3 separate regions of the Homo sapiens genome follow, and all the other regions are linked to region 3. Evidence: promoter capture Hi-C in human tissues and cell types (Jung and others, 2019). All regions are on one chromosome and are shown on one strand. The core of a region is centred on a gene start or on the middle of the fragment in contact, and the rest is flanking DNA. Distances in the headings are between cores, read along the strand shown. Region 1 overlaps RYR3 (ryanodine receptor 3). Region 2 overlaps RYR3 (ryanodine receptor 3). Region 3 holds the start of CHRM5 (cholinergic receptor muscarinic 5).

The links. The method cuts DNA at HindIII sites, captures the fragments that hold promoters and counts their contacts. A contact is called where the count stands out against the background at its distance.
Region 1: a contact is called between a fragment that was not itself captured here and the fragment with the promoter of CHRM5 in region 3, in 3 of the 25 tissues and cell types used here (dorsolateral prefrontal cortex, lymphoblastoid cells and mesenchymal stem cells).
Region 2: a contact is called between a fragment that was not itself captured here and the fragment with the promoter of CHRM5 in region 3, in 2 of the 25 tissues and cell types used here (heart left ventricle and mesenchymal stem cells).

What each region holds. Positions count from the first base shown.
Region 1 is chr15:33,779,245-33,783,171 of GRCh38, forward strand. RYR3 (ryanodine receptor 3) reads left to right here. Exons shown (of 104, transcript NM_001036.6): 65 at 967-1,097. Among named protein-coding and RNA genes, the nearest start is that of CHRM5, 190 kb to the right of the region's middle. The HindIII fragment of the contact is 5,462 bases long and covers 1-3,927 here.
Region 2 is chr15:33,827,062-33,831,085 of GRCh38, forward strand. RYR3 (ryanodine receptor 3) reads left to right here. Exons shown (of 104, transcript NM_001036.6): 85 at 138-226; 86 at 3,902-4,024. Among named protein-coding and RNA genes, the nearest start is that of CHRM5, 140 kb to the right of the region's middle. The HindIII fragment of the contact is 5,248 bases long and covers 1-4,024 here.
Region 3 is chr15:33,966,199-33,969,778 of GRCh38, forward strand. CHRM5 (cholinergic receptor muscarinic 5) reads left to right here and starts at 2,299. Exons shown (of 3, transcript NM_012125.4): 1 at 2,299-2,952. The region is part of intron 2 of AVEN (apoptosis and caspase activation inhibitor); the gene reads right to left. The HindIII fragment of the contact is 2,452 bases long and covers 887-3,338 here.

The DNA of each region.
Region 1 (3,927 bases), core at 202-2,701, 190 kb before region 3:
GAGTTGGAGTCTTGCCCTGTCACCAAGGCTGGAGTGCAATGGTGTGATCTCAAGCCTTTTGTTTTTGTTTGTTTGCTTGCTTCACAGGAAGACTTAAGAACCAGACCTTAAGATATGGTGGACAGTCAACTATTTGTACAAAAGAGGGAAAGGAGTAACCGTTATCTGAGGTCTCTCCTGTAAATCAAGCAGTAGGTTTTAGGACCTATTGTTTCTGTTGTAAGGGCAGGTCTTTTATTTTTGTGTCTCATTGGTGCTTTGGTGTGCTACCTACTGTTCCCACTAGTGGACACAGGCTCCATCCATAGCAGAGAAGAGACACAGAGAAATTACACAGATTTCAAAGCATTTTTGAGAACAGGGAAGGATCCATCTCAATTTGGATACCAGCAGAACTTGCTCTCACACATGCTGGGAGAGAGGGACAAAGCCGCACAGTGTGTTATATCATCTTAACCAGTTAAGAACTAGGATCTGGCCGGGCGTGGTGGCTCACGCCTGTAGTCCCAGCACTTTGGGAGGCCGAGGCGGGCAGATCACAAGGTCAGGAGATCGAGACCATCCTGGCCAACATGGCGAAACCCCGTCTCTACTAAAAAAAAAAATAGAAAAAGAAATTAACCGGGCATGGTGGTGGGCGCATGTAGTGCCAGCTACTCGGGAGGCTGAGGCAGGAGAATGGCGTGAACCTGGGAGGCGGAGCTTGCAGTGAGCTGATATCGCGCCACTGCACTCCAGCCTGGGTGACAGAGCAAGACTCCGTCTCAAAAAAAAAGAACTAGGATCTAAGCAGTGAGAGCATTGGTTAGTGTCTAGAGAAAGAGGAGGGGAAGAAGTGCATGCAAGCTTGCTGAGCCTAGTGCCTAGGGATGTCCATGGATTAATCTATGGGGAAGGCCTGATCTGCCAATGCATGGGGCCAGCATGTGGGGGGCCACACTTCTCAATGGACTTCTTTGTTTCCAGGCAACGCCCTGCCCTTGGAGAATGTCTGGCCTCGCTGGCAGCTGCCATACCAGTGGCATTCCTGGAGCCCACCCTTAATCGCTACAATCCACTCTCGGTCTTCAACACCAAAACCCCCAGGGAGAGGTCTAGTAAGTATCTCCCCTCAAAGGTCATCAACCCATTTCATGTGCTGAGAGGAGAGGAGCCACACAGGCAGGGAGCAGCAGCCCTGCAGCACTGTGGCTTTCTTGGTCTGAGAGGAGCCAGGAGGTGAGGTTAGGGACTAGGTTGCAGGTCTGCATCTTACTGGAGAAATAAGCATGGGCAAGGCTTTGTTATAATTAGGCTTTGGTTTCCTCTTCTCTAAAGTGAGGAGTCAGTGTTGCTGATTTTGAAATCCTTTCCATCCTAAGACCTCAGGGTCTCTTGTCTGCTCTGGGTTTCAGTTCCCCCTCTGCACCTGGGGATGTGACTCCTTTTTTGCAGTGCCTCTCCAGAGTGGTATCAGAAGGTGCACATCCACAGTAATAACCCAGTTATACTCTTCAAGTCCATGGAGAGGCGTGCTTCTAAAGATGCTGATGACACATTTTTGTCCTCATGGAAGATAAGACATAGAAAAGCACCAAAAGGAAGAGAAAGTGTACAAGAAAGAATATTTCTTAGCAAACATATTGACACGCTAGGTTCCACAACAGGGTGGCAAACTATGACCACAGGGCAAATTTGGCCCCCTGCCTATTTTTGTAAATAAAGTTTTATTTGAACACAACCACACCTACTTACGTACATTTGGTCTGTGGCTGCTTTAGCACGACAATGGCAGAGTTGAGTAGAGGCAGGAAAGTTTGGCCCGCGAGGCCTAAAATATTTACTATCTGGCCCTCTACAGGAAACGTTTTCCACCCTCTTTTGTAAAATGATCCTGGAACTAAAATCCAAGGCAGGTTGTAAATCTGCTTCTGGAGGGTGCTTGTATCTGGGTTAATTGTGATCCTGCCTAAGGATAAGGGAATAGAATAGAGGAGCTTCAAGTAGGAGCCTTGAATCAAGCTTGGACTCCAACTAGAAAGAACTGCGATGATTCCATCTATTCTGAAGCAAAAATTACCCAACTGTAGGCTAATCAATATTAAGGGAAAACAAGCTACAGTAAATTATTTTCAACCAGAGCTTTTTCTATTCAGAACCAATGTTTTCTTAAAATATTGCTATACACTACCAGTAGATGTCTGGACGTGGTAGCAATTCCATTTAGTTCAAGCCCCCTTTCTCAAACTGCCATGAGATTTAAGGAAGAAGCATTCTGAGCAAGAAAGGGCTCATGCCACACTTTTCTTTGCCACTGCTGTTTTTTTCATCTAAAAATGCGAAGTGCTAAGCCATGGCAGCTTTATTCCCACTCGCTTCTTGTTACTTCAGGTAAGAGGAGCACATTGCCCCCCAGAAATGATCACCAGGACAATTCAGATAAGGCCACTAATAAAAATCTTTCACTGAGCTAGAATACAGTGGAGACTAGTGTTCTCAGAGGTAGTCAAGAGAAACATTGCCAAGATGCCTCAACTTTCCAAAGTCCCGTATGAAATCTATAAGTTAACCTTTCCTCAACCGCTTCAGCCTCATCTCACCCTTTCTTCCCTTTGAAATTAGCAAAAAAAAAAAAAGGGGGGGGGGATTTCCAACCTTTTTTTTACTTCCCACTCCTGATTCCAAATGAGTCCTGGCTTTCCACCAAAGTGGAAGCTGAGCAGCAGAGCAGACTTTGGTGAAGTTGAGAAGTGGCTGTGACATCTCCAGGCAAATGCCAGCCCAGGTGTTGCTTCCTGACTCCAAAGGGACATGGGGCCCAGTCATGACAGTTCTGGATATGTATACATTTATTCTGCTTCAACTGTGACTTGAGAAATAGTGTATCTCTGTCTCTATACCAGCACTGTGTAGAGCTTCACCTGGGGAAAGAGAGAAACTGCCTCTGCTCTTTAGTTCATAAAGGCACAGTAGCAGGGTGAAATGAGGATGTGACAAAGATAGAGGAAAGCCTAGGTTAGCTTTGGGAGGGAGGGGAATTAGTCTCTTGCATTGTGCTCCTTCCCAAGAGCTATTTGAAAAGTGTTCCTTTTCATTCTATATACCTTTGCATTGATTTGATAAGACATATTCATAAATAAAAAATGACTCCCCACCATTGCATATTCCAAAGGAAGAAAAGAGACAAGGTTGTAATTAGAGATGACACAGTCCTTTATCCATTAGCGACACACTATGGGACTCTATGTCCAGCTCCCCTGAGCCCATGTCTTTCATCACTGGCTTTAGCAAAGAGTGGATGCTGACCGTGTATATGGCTCTTAAAAAGTTTATCTAGAGCCGGAGAATGACTGTTGGCTTAATGAGCTGTAAGAAGGTAGACTTCATTCATTACAAAGTGGGTGGCCTGAGGGATAAAGGGCGGGGAGGAATGTATAAGGTGACAGGTGATGTGAGCCTGTGATTTAGAAATACAGTATGAACTGATTTATCATGTCTTCAGTTAATTGGGCATCTCTATTAATTGACACTTGATGCTTTGCCAGCAGAATTACTCAGATTAGTATCTTTGATGCCCTATAACATCCTGGTGCATTTTCTTCCTTATCCAAAAATTATTAAGATATACCTAGAAAAAGTTTAATACTGTTATGAGTCAGTTATTCAAAACTAGTTAAATCCTTAGTTATGGGTGGCAGTGATCTATTAATCAGAACACTAGATGTCAGACCAAAGCATCCTATTACCAGTCAGTTTGCTTTTCTTCTGTACCCTATTGGAACTCTTTTCTCTTTGGTTGATTATTCCAATTCTAATGTAAGCCATCTGTCTGTGTTGCAAAGAGAAGAGGTGCTAAAGTGAGGCACACAAGACTTTAGAATCTAATCTGGTGATTCTTGAATTCTAACGCGCATCAGAATCACCCGGGAGGCTTGTTCAAGACTGTTG
Region 2 (4,024 bases), core at 966-3,465, 140 kb before region 3:
GGATCTGCCATGACCCAAACATGGTATTCTTGTAAGCCTTTTCACATAGAATGTCTTATCTGAGCTCAGCTGAGAGGGCATGCTTGGCCCCCTCGGCATGGCAGGGACAAGCTCTGACCCAGCACTGGTGCTCTCAGACTTTCAGAACTTCCTGCGGACTCAGATGGGCAACACCACCACCGTGAATGTCATCATCAGCACTGTGGACTACCTTCTGCGTCTGCAGGTGAGTGGGAGGGCCTTGGACAATGGGACCTCTCACCTTTGCTTCCAGAAGATAAACACAGTTACACAGGGTCAGGGACAGCCCAGGATACAGTCAAGCCCCTATAAGGAAGGCGTTGTAACGTGTATCCACAGATGCATGGGAAGTCCAGTGCCCAAAGAGTATATTTGAAGACAGAAGTGGGAGACGTGGTTAAACACCAAATCGTCTGTTATGAAATGCTGGTTTACTTTAGTTTTGCCAGTGAAAACCAATCTGTGTTGCTATAAAACAACCAAGAGCTATAACACAACCAAGAGCTCTAAAATAACCTGTGAATGAGAACAGATTTCACTAGAAAAAAAGACTTACACGAGATGATAGGAATAGGATGAGTTTACAAGTTCGTGTTGAGAAGTCAGATGGTTTGTTTCAAGGAAGCCCAAATTATATTGAAAAAATCTACACAAACCTATTAACAAAAAGGGATTTTTTTCCTCTTTGCTGATTCCTCATCCTGGTTCTGCCACTTACTGGTTTGTAACCTAGAGCAATATGTTTAATGTGCCTGTGTTCCAGTTTTTTCATCAGTAAAAGGGGTAGGACCTATGCCATAGGGTGGTAGTAAAGATTGAGAGGTTGGATACAGGCATACCTCATTTTATTGCAGTTGGTATTATTGTGCTTCACAGATGCTGTGTGTTTTACAAATCGAAGGTTTGTGGTAACCCTGCATCAAGCAAGTCTATCTGTGCCGTTTTACCAACAGCATTTACTCACTTGGTGTCTCTGTCACATTTTGATGATTCTCACAATATTTCCAACTTTTCACTATTATATCTATTATGGTGATCTGTGATCAGTGATCTTCGATGTTACTATTGTAATTGTTTTGGGGTGCCATGAACTATGCCCTTGTAAGACAGCAAACTTAATGTTGCATGTGTTCTCACCATTCCACCAACTGTTCCTCCATCTCCCTCCTTCTCCTCAGGCCTTCCTATTCCCTGAGACATAACAGTATTGAAGTTAGGTCAGTTAATTTCCCTACAGTGGCCTCCAAGTGTTCAAGTGAAAGGAAGAGTCACACATCTCCCACTTTAAATCAAAAGCTGGAAATGATTAAGCTTAGTAAGGAAGGCATGTTGAAAGCTAAGACAGGCCAAAGGCTAGGCCCCTTGCACTAAACAGCCAAGCTATGCAAAGAAAAAGTTATTAAAGGACATTAAAAGGGCTGCCTCAGTGAGCATATGAATGATAAGAAAGCAAAACACCCTCATTACTGAAATGGGGACAGTGCGAGTGGTCTGGATAAAAGGTCAAACCAGCCACAACATTCTCATAAGCCACAATCTAATCTAGAGCAGGGCTCTAACTCTCTTCAATTCTATGAAGGCTGAGAGAGGTAAGGAAGCTGCCAAAGAACAGTTTGAAGCTAGCAGAGTTTGGTTCATGAGGTTTAGGGAAAGAAGTCATCTCCAAAACAAAAGTGTAAGGTAAAGCAGCAAGTGCAGATATAGAAGCTGCAGCAAGTTACCCAGAAGATCTATCTAGGATAATTGATGAAGGTGGTCACACTAAACAACAGATTTCCCACGTACATGAAACAGCCTTCTCCTAGAAGAGAGATACCATCTAGGACTTTCATAGTTAGAGAGGACAAGCCAATACCTCACTTCAGAGCTTCAAAGGACAGGCTGACTTTCTTATTAGGGGCAGCCCAGCTGGTAGCTTTAAGTTGAAGCCACTGCTCGTTTACCATTCCAAAAATCCTAGGGCCCTTAAGAATTATGGTAAATCTACTCTGCCCATGCTCTATGTATGGAAAAACAAAGCTTGGATTGTCATCTGTTTACAGCATGATTTACTATTTTAAGCCCACTGTTGACACCAACTGCTCAGAAAAAAAAAAAGATTCCTTTCAAAATATTACTGTTGTTGACTATGCACCTGGTTCCAAGAGCTCTGATGGAGATATACAAGGAAATGAATCTTTTTTTCATGCCTGCTAATACAAGATTTATTCTGCAGCCCATGGATCAAGGAGTAATTTTGACTTGCAAGTCTTATTTTTTAAGAAATGCATTTCGTAAGGCTACAGCTGCTACAGATAGTGATTCCTCTGATGGATCTGGGCACGGTAAGTTGAAAACCTTCTGGAAAGGATTCAACATTGTAGATGTCATTAAAAAACATTGTGGGCCAGGCCCAGTGGCTCGCATCTGTAATCCTAGGACTTTGGGAGGCCAAGGCAGGAGGATCACAAGGTCAGGAGATCGAGACCATCCTGGCTAACACGGTGAAACCCCATCTCTACTAAAAATACAAAAAAAAAAATTAGCCGGGCATGGTGGCGGGTGCCTGTAGTCCCAGCTACTCGGGAGGCTGAGGCAGGAGAATGGCGTGAACCCGGGAGGCGGAGCTTGCAGTGAGCCAGATTGCGCCGCTGCACTCCAGCCTGGGCAACAGAGCGAGACTCTGTCTCAAAAAAAAAAAAAAAAAATTTTGATTCATGGGAGAAGGTCAAATATCAACATTAACAGGACTTGAGGAAGTTGATTGCAACCCTTGTGGGTGATTTGGAGGGGTTTGAGACTTCAGTGGAGGAAATAAATGCAGACGTGTTGGAAATAGCAAGAGAACTAGAATTAGTAGTGGAGCCTGAAGAACATGAACCTGAATTGCTGCAATCTCATGATCAAACTTTGACAAACGAAGAGTTTCCTCTCATGGATGAGCAAAGAAAGTGGTTTCTTGAGATGGAGTCTTCCTGGTGAAGATGCTCTAAACATTGTTGAAATGCCAAAAAGGGATTTAAAATTGTAAACTTAGTTGATAAGGAGTGGCAAGGTTTGAGAAGACTGACTCCAATTTTGAAAGAAGTTCTGTGGGTAAAATGCTATCAAGCAGTACATGCGTCTTTCATGAAAGGAAGTCAGTTGATGCAGTTAACACTGTCTTATTTCAAGAAATTGCCACAGCCACCTCAACCTTCAGCAGCCACCACCCTGTTTAGTCAGTAGCCATCAACATCAAGGCAAGACCTTTCACCAGCAAAAAGATGGTGGAACTTACAACTTGCTGAGAGCTCAGGTGATTGTTAGCACTTTTTAGCAATAAAGTATTTTTTAATGATGGCACGTACATTGTTTTTTAAAGACATAATGCTATTGCACACTTAATAGACTACAGCATATTGTAAACATAACTTTGATGTACGCTGAGAAATCAACATTTTGTATGACTCACTTTATTGTAATGTTCACTTTACTGTAGTTTATCTGTAATCAAACTCGGATTATCTCTGAATCTCTACATGCCTGTATATGTAATGTACTCAGAACAACGTCTGGCACTTACAATATTAGCTATTATGTTGTTGCTGTTACTATGATTATTTGGATAATTACCATTATCTTCACATATTTCACATTGAGTAAATTATCCTATTTCATAGTCTCCAAGTTCCAGCTGAAGGCAGTCCTCACTCCTATCTATTCTTTCCTCTGCAGGGATATTTGTGCATGAAAGATCCTAGAGACCTGGTATCTCTGCACTTCTTCACAGGGTCCCTGGCTCCTGTCAGAGCAAAGAGGTCATAGAGATGCAGGATTATCATGTACCCTTCCCAAACACCGAGTTTAGCTTCACTGACTGAAGTCTGAGAAATACTAAGCTCTACTCATTTGTTTTTAGGAATCAATCAGTGATTTCTACTGGTATTATTCAGGGAAGGACATCATTGATGAATCTGGACAGCACAATTTTTCCAAAGCTCTGGCAGTCACCAAGCAGATTTTCAATTCTCTTACAGAATAC
Region 3 (3,580 bases), core at 1,049-3,548:
AGTGTTCTCCTATGTTGACATTGTATTATAAATGACTGAGAAAAATTTCAGAGACAACTTGGAAAGAGAATGGAAGCATTTTTGCTCACCTTTTCCCATTCAGCTTATCTGTATTAAATGGTGATAATCAGTAACTATTTACTAAGCTTTCAAAAAGTGATTGGCACATATAGTCCTTATTCAGCAAGATTTAAAGGACAAGGTATAATTTGAGAACATAAAGTGTAACACAAAGCTCCCAAATGTTCATGCCATAACATGACGTATGACAAGAGATACTCAAGAGTGAGCACCTTGGGAGAGAAGTATTCTATTGCCCTCCATAAAAAATGGGAGCACGGTCCTCAGCAGTGGCTTTGAGCTTAGATGGAAACAGAAAATTATAATTTCCATCTACACCCCTTTAATGGCTCCCCATATTCACCACCCCCATTCTCTTTCATCCAGCCAATTTGAAAGATGAGATAAGAGTGAGAAGAGACAGAGAACCTGAATGAGAATGAATTTCGACAGGTGAGGGTGTGGCACACAAGTTATTTTCAGGACCTCATGCTATTGTATTCTTGGAAAAGTTAAGTGGACAGCCAAATGTTATGCTTTACCAGAAAGGAGCTAGGAGTTCAAACTTCATAGAAAAATTAAAATCCATTGGGAAGAAACCTTGACATTAATGAAAAACATATATAATATTATAGTCATCGATCCTCATAAACACAATGGCCCCATTTGATAGATTTTTACTTCTCTCATTTTGGATCTCCACTGAACTCTAAGTCACATTCAATCATTGAAATGGCTTAATAATCAGTGGCTTAAAACTTGGGGTATTTATTATAGAAGTGACCAGTATATAATGACCAATCATTACCATATGAAATTACAATCCTTTTCAGTATCATGCAATGTTAAGTGGGAAAAGTTCAAGAAAATATTCTAAAGATATGTTCTCTTGCATAAATATTCCTATTACAAATGTGTGTCAAAGACCACTATAAAACTAAAATTCACTTCTTTCTCATACATGTTCATCTGTCAGTGTTTAAAATTCTATTGGCTAACAATTAAAGTGTATACTTTGTCTGGATTCTCACTCAGAAAAAACCTACATAAAGACATAGTTTCTGAGACACAAGGAATTTAAAATGAACTGGATATTATATGACTCCAGAGGATTATAGCCAATGTGTTAGGTGTGATAATGGCACAGGGTCATGTGAAAAAGTGTCCATACTTTAAAAATATACATACTAAAGTACAAATAGGTGAAATGAGATTTGCTTTAAAATATTTTAGCAAAGAATTGAATCTGACAATTGTTGAATCTTGGTAATGAGTTTCTGGAGGTTCATGTATTATTTTTGTATTATTTTTCAGAGTTTTGTGTAAGTTTGAAATGTTCCATAATAATTTTTTAAAATTTAAAAACATTATATTGTCTAGATACACTCATAAAGAACTCAGGCAGGGAAAAAACGTTTAAATTTAAAATTTAAATTTTAAACTGAAGTGCAGTTTTAAAAATTTGAATTTTAAATTTAAAAACTGAAGTGCAAAAATTATGAAATTGACATTTAAAAATCTATTCTTTTATACAGCTAATATGGATTTCATCTAACTTAAGGAAAAGCTTTAATGAAGACCCTGTTAAAAGTTTGTATCAAATGAGGACTTATAATGCTTTACTCCAAAGCAACAAAACGCATATGCCCAAAAGATGTATAAAAACAGGCATACATTTAGGAAAAAAAAAAAAGGCAGCCTTTTCTCTGCTACAAATATTTAAAACTCACAGTATACTCTTTCTATCTCAAAGACTTTTAAAAATTATTTTCCATCTTTAGGGAAAACCATATGAGAAAATAACTCAGCAACATGTCTGTGAATAATGCCTAGCAAAGCTTAAAAAAAAAAAAAAAAAAAAAAAAAAGCTTCTAGCCAAAAAGACTAACAGGAAAAAATGAACATTTTCAAAAGCATTTTGGAACCTTATTCCAGCTACCTCCATGCTAAGCCCTCTTTTTCCTCCCAAAATACGTCACTTAACTGTCTGTCAAATAACTCTTGCCCATTCTACCTGATCACACTCTGAAGCTGCAGCTTTTCCTGGATTCTCTTCTCAATGACAAGCTGTTCAAACAGAGAACACCTATCAAAACGAATATCATCATCTGCTCCTTTCTTTCTTCCTTTCAGGATATACTGCTGTCCAGCAGGGGAAGTAATTAATGAGTTTTTTATGTATGGCAGCGTCATCCCATCAGTTTGCTGTCTGGTTTGAATAGCTCCTATCAGCTCTTCATTCATGCCAAGTACGCTCACCGTCCAGAGACATGATAAAGCCGTACTTCCTTCTGGATTTTTACCTCACTATTCAAAAAACAGGGTACCAGAAGCATGGGTTACAAAAGCATGAGGAGGACAGAAGAAATGCCTTCATCTTCTACAGAAAGGAAGCTGATGGACTGAAAAGTTCGTATGGAGAAAGGAAAGCAAGAGTGCAAGAACATCCATGCTTCTAGTCCAGATAATGTTTTTTAAAGCAGCTTGATTTGGAAGCGTGTGTAATTCTGAAATACGAACAAGCAGAACTTTTCCAGGGGGTCAAATGCATATAGGAACAACCAGGATTTCTCATTGCTGAAGCATTCAATGAATCTTTAATAAGTTCTCAACACTCAGATTGTTTGTGATCAGATCAACTGCTGTTACCAGATAAAGGCAAAACTCACCCTTCTGGTTCTATAATCCTATCCAAATGGAGTCTTCATCTACCGCATACTATCCTAACTAATGCTACAGGATTATCAGGAATACAGATATAAAGACACTGCAAGAAATAAAACACTGGCAAAATAAAACATGAAAGGAAAGTAGAGAAGGCATTTTGGGTCTCGAAGCTTACTATTTCCAGCCAGAGTTCAAATTACTGAGCTTCAAACAAACCACTGCCAGGTAAGATTTAATTTTATAACCTTAATTTATATCTTGTCTACTGAAATTAAATCTGCTCGTGCTGTGAATGAGATAGTGGATTTGAATTTCTTGCAACCCTTCCTTAAGCTTTTGCAGATTTAAGCTGAGGTAAACGCTTGTTTTTACTTATGCTGCATAAACAAGTCACTCAGAACTAGATAATAAAGCATCCAAAACTCCCATTCATTTTTCATTGAATTTGTCTCATCTTTGTCTTTATTTTTATCCCAATTTTGTTTTATTTAATAGCTTGAAAAAAATGCATGAAGAGAGCCCTGAATGGTGCATAAGAGCCATTCACAGATAATGTTTACCAACAATATTCAAATGAACTTAGTTTCCCAGAGTACTTGATAAAACAAAGAAAAATTAATAAGCATTTTAAATATTTTTATTCATATAAAGGAACAAAAGCTCAATGACTGATTTCTATTGTTACTAAGAAAAAAAAGCTGTGATGTCATTTCATTCATACTAAAGAAAAATAATCTCTACTAAATCGAGGTATAACACTCTTGTAGGATAGGGCTAATTTATCCTAAAGATACTAGACATTTTTATAACAGACTAAATGAAGACATTTTTCTGATTCAACAAGAGGATAAAA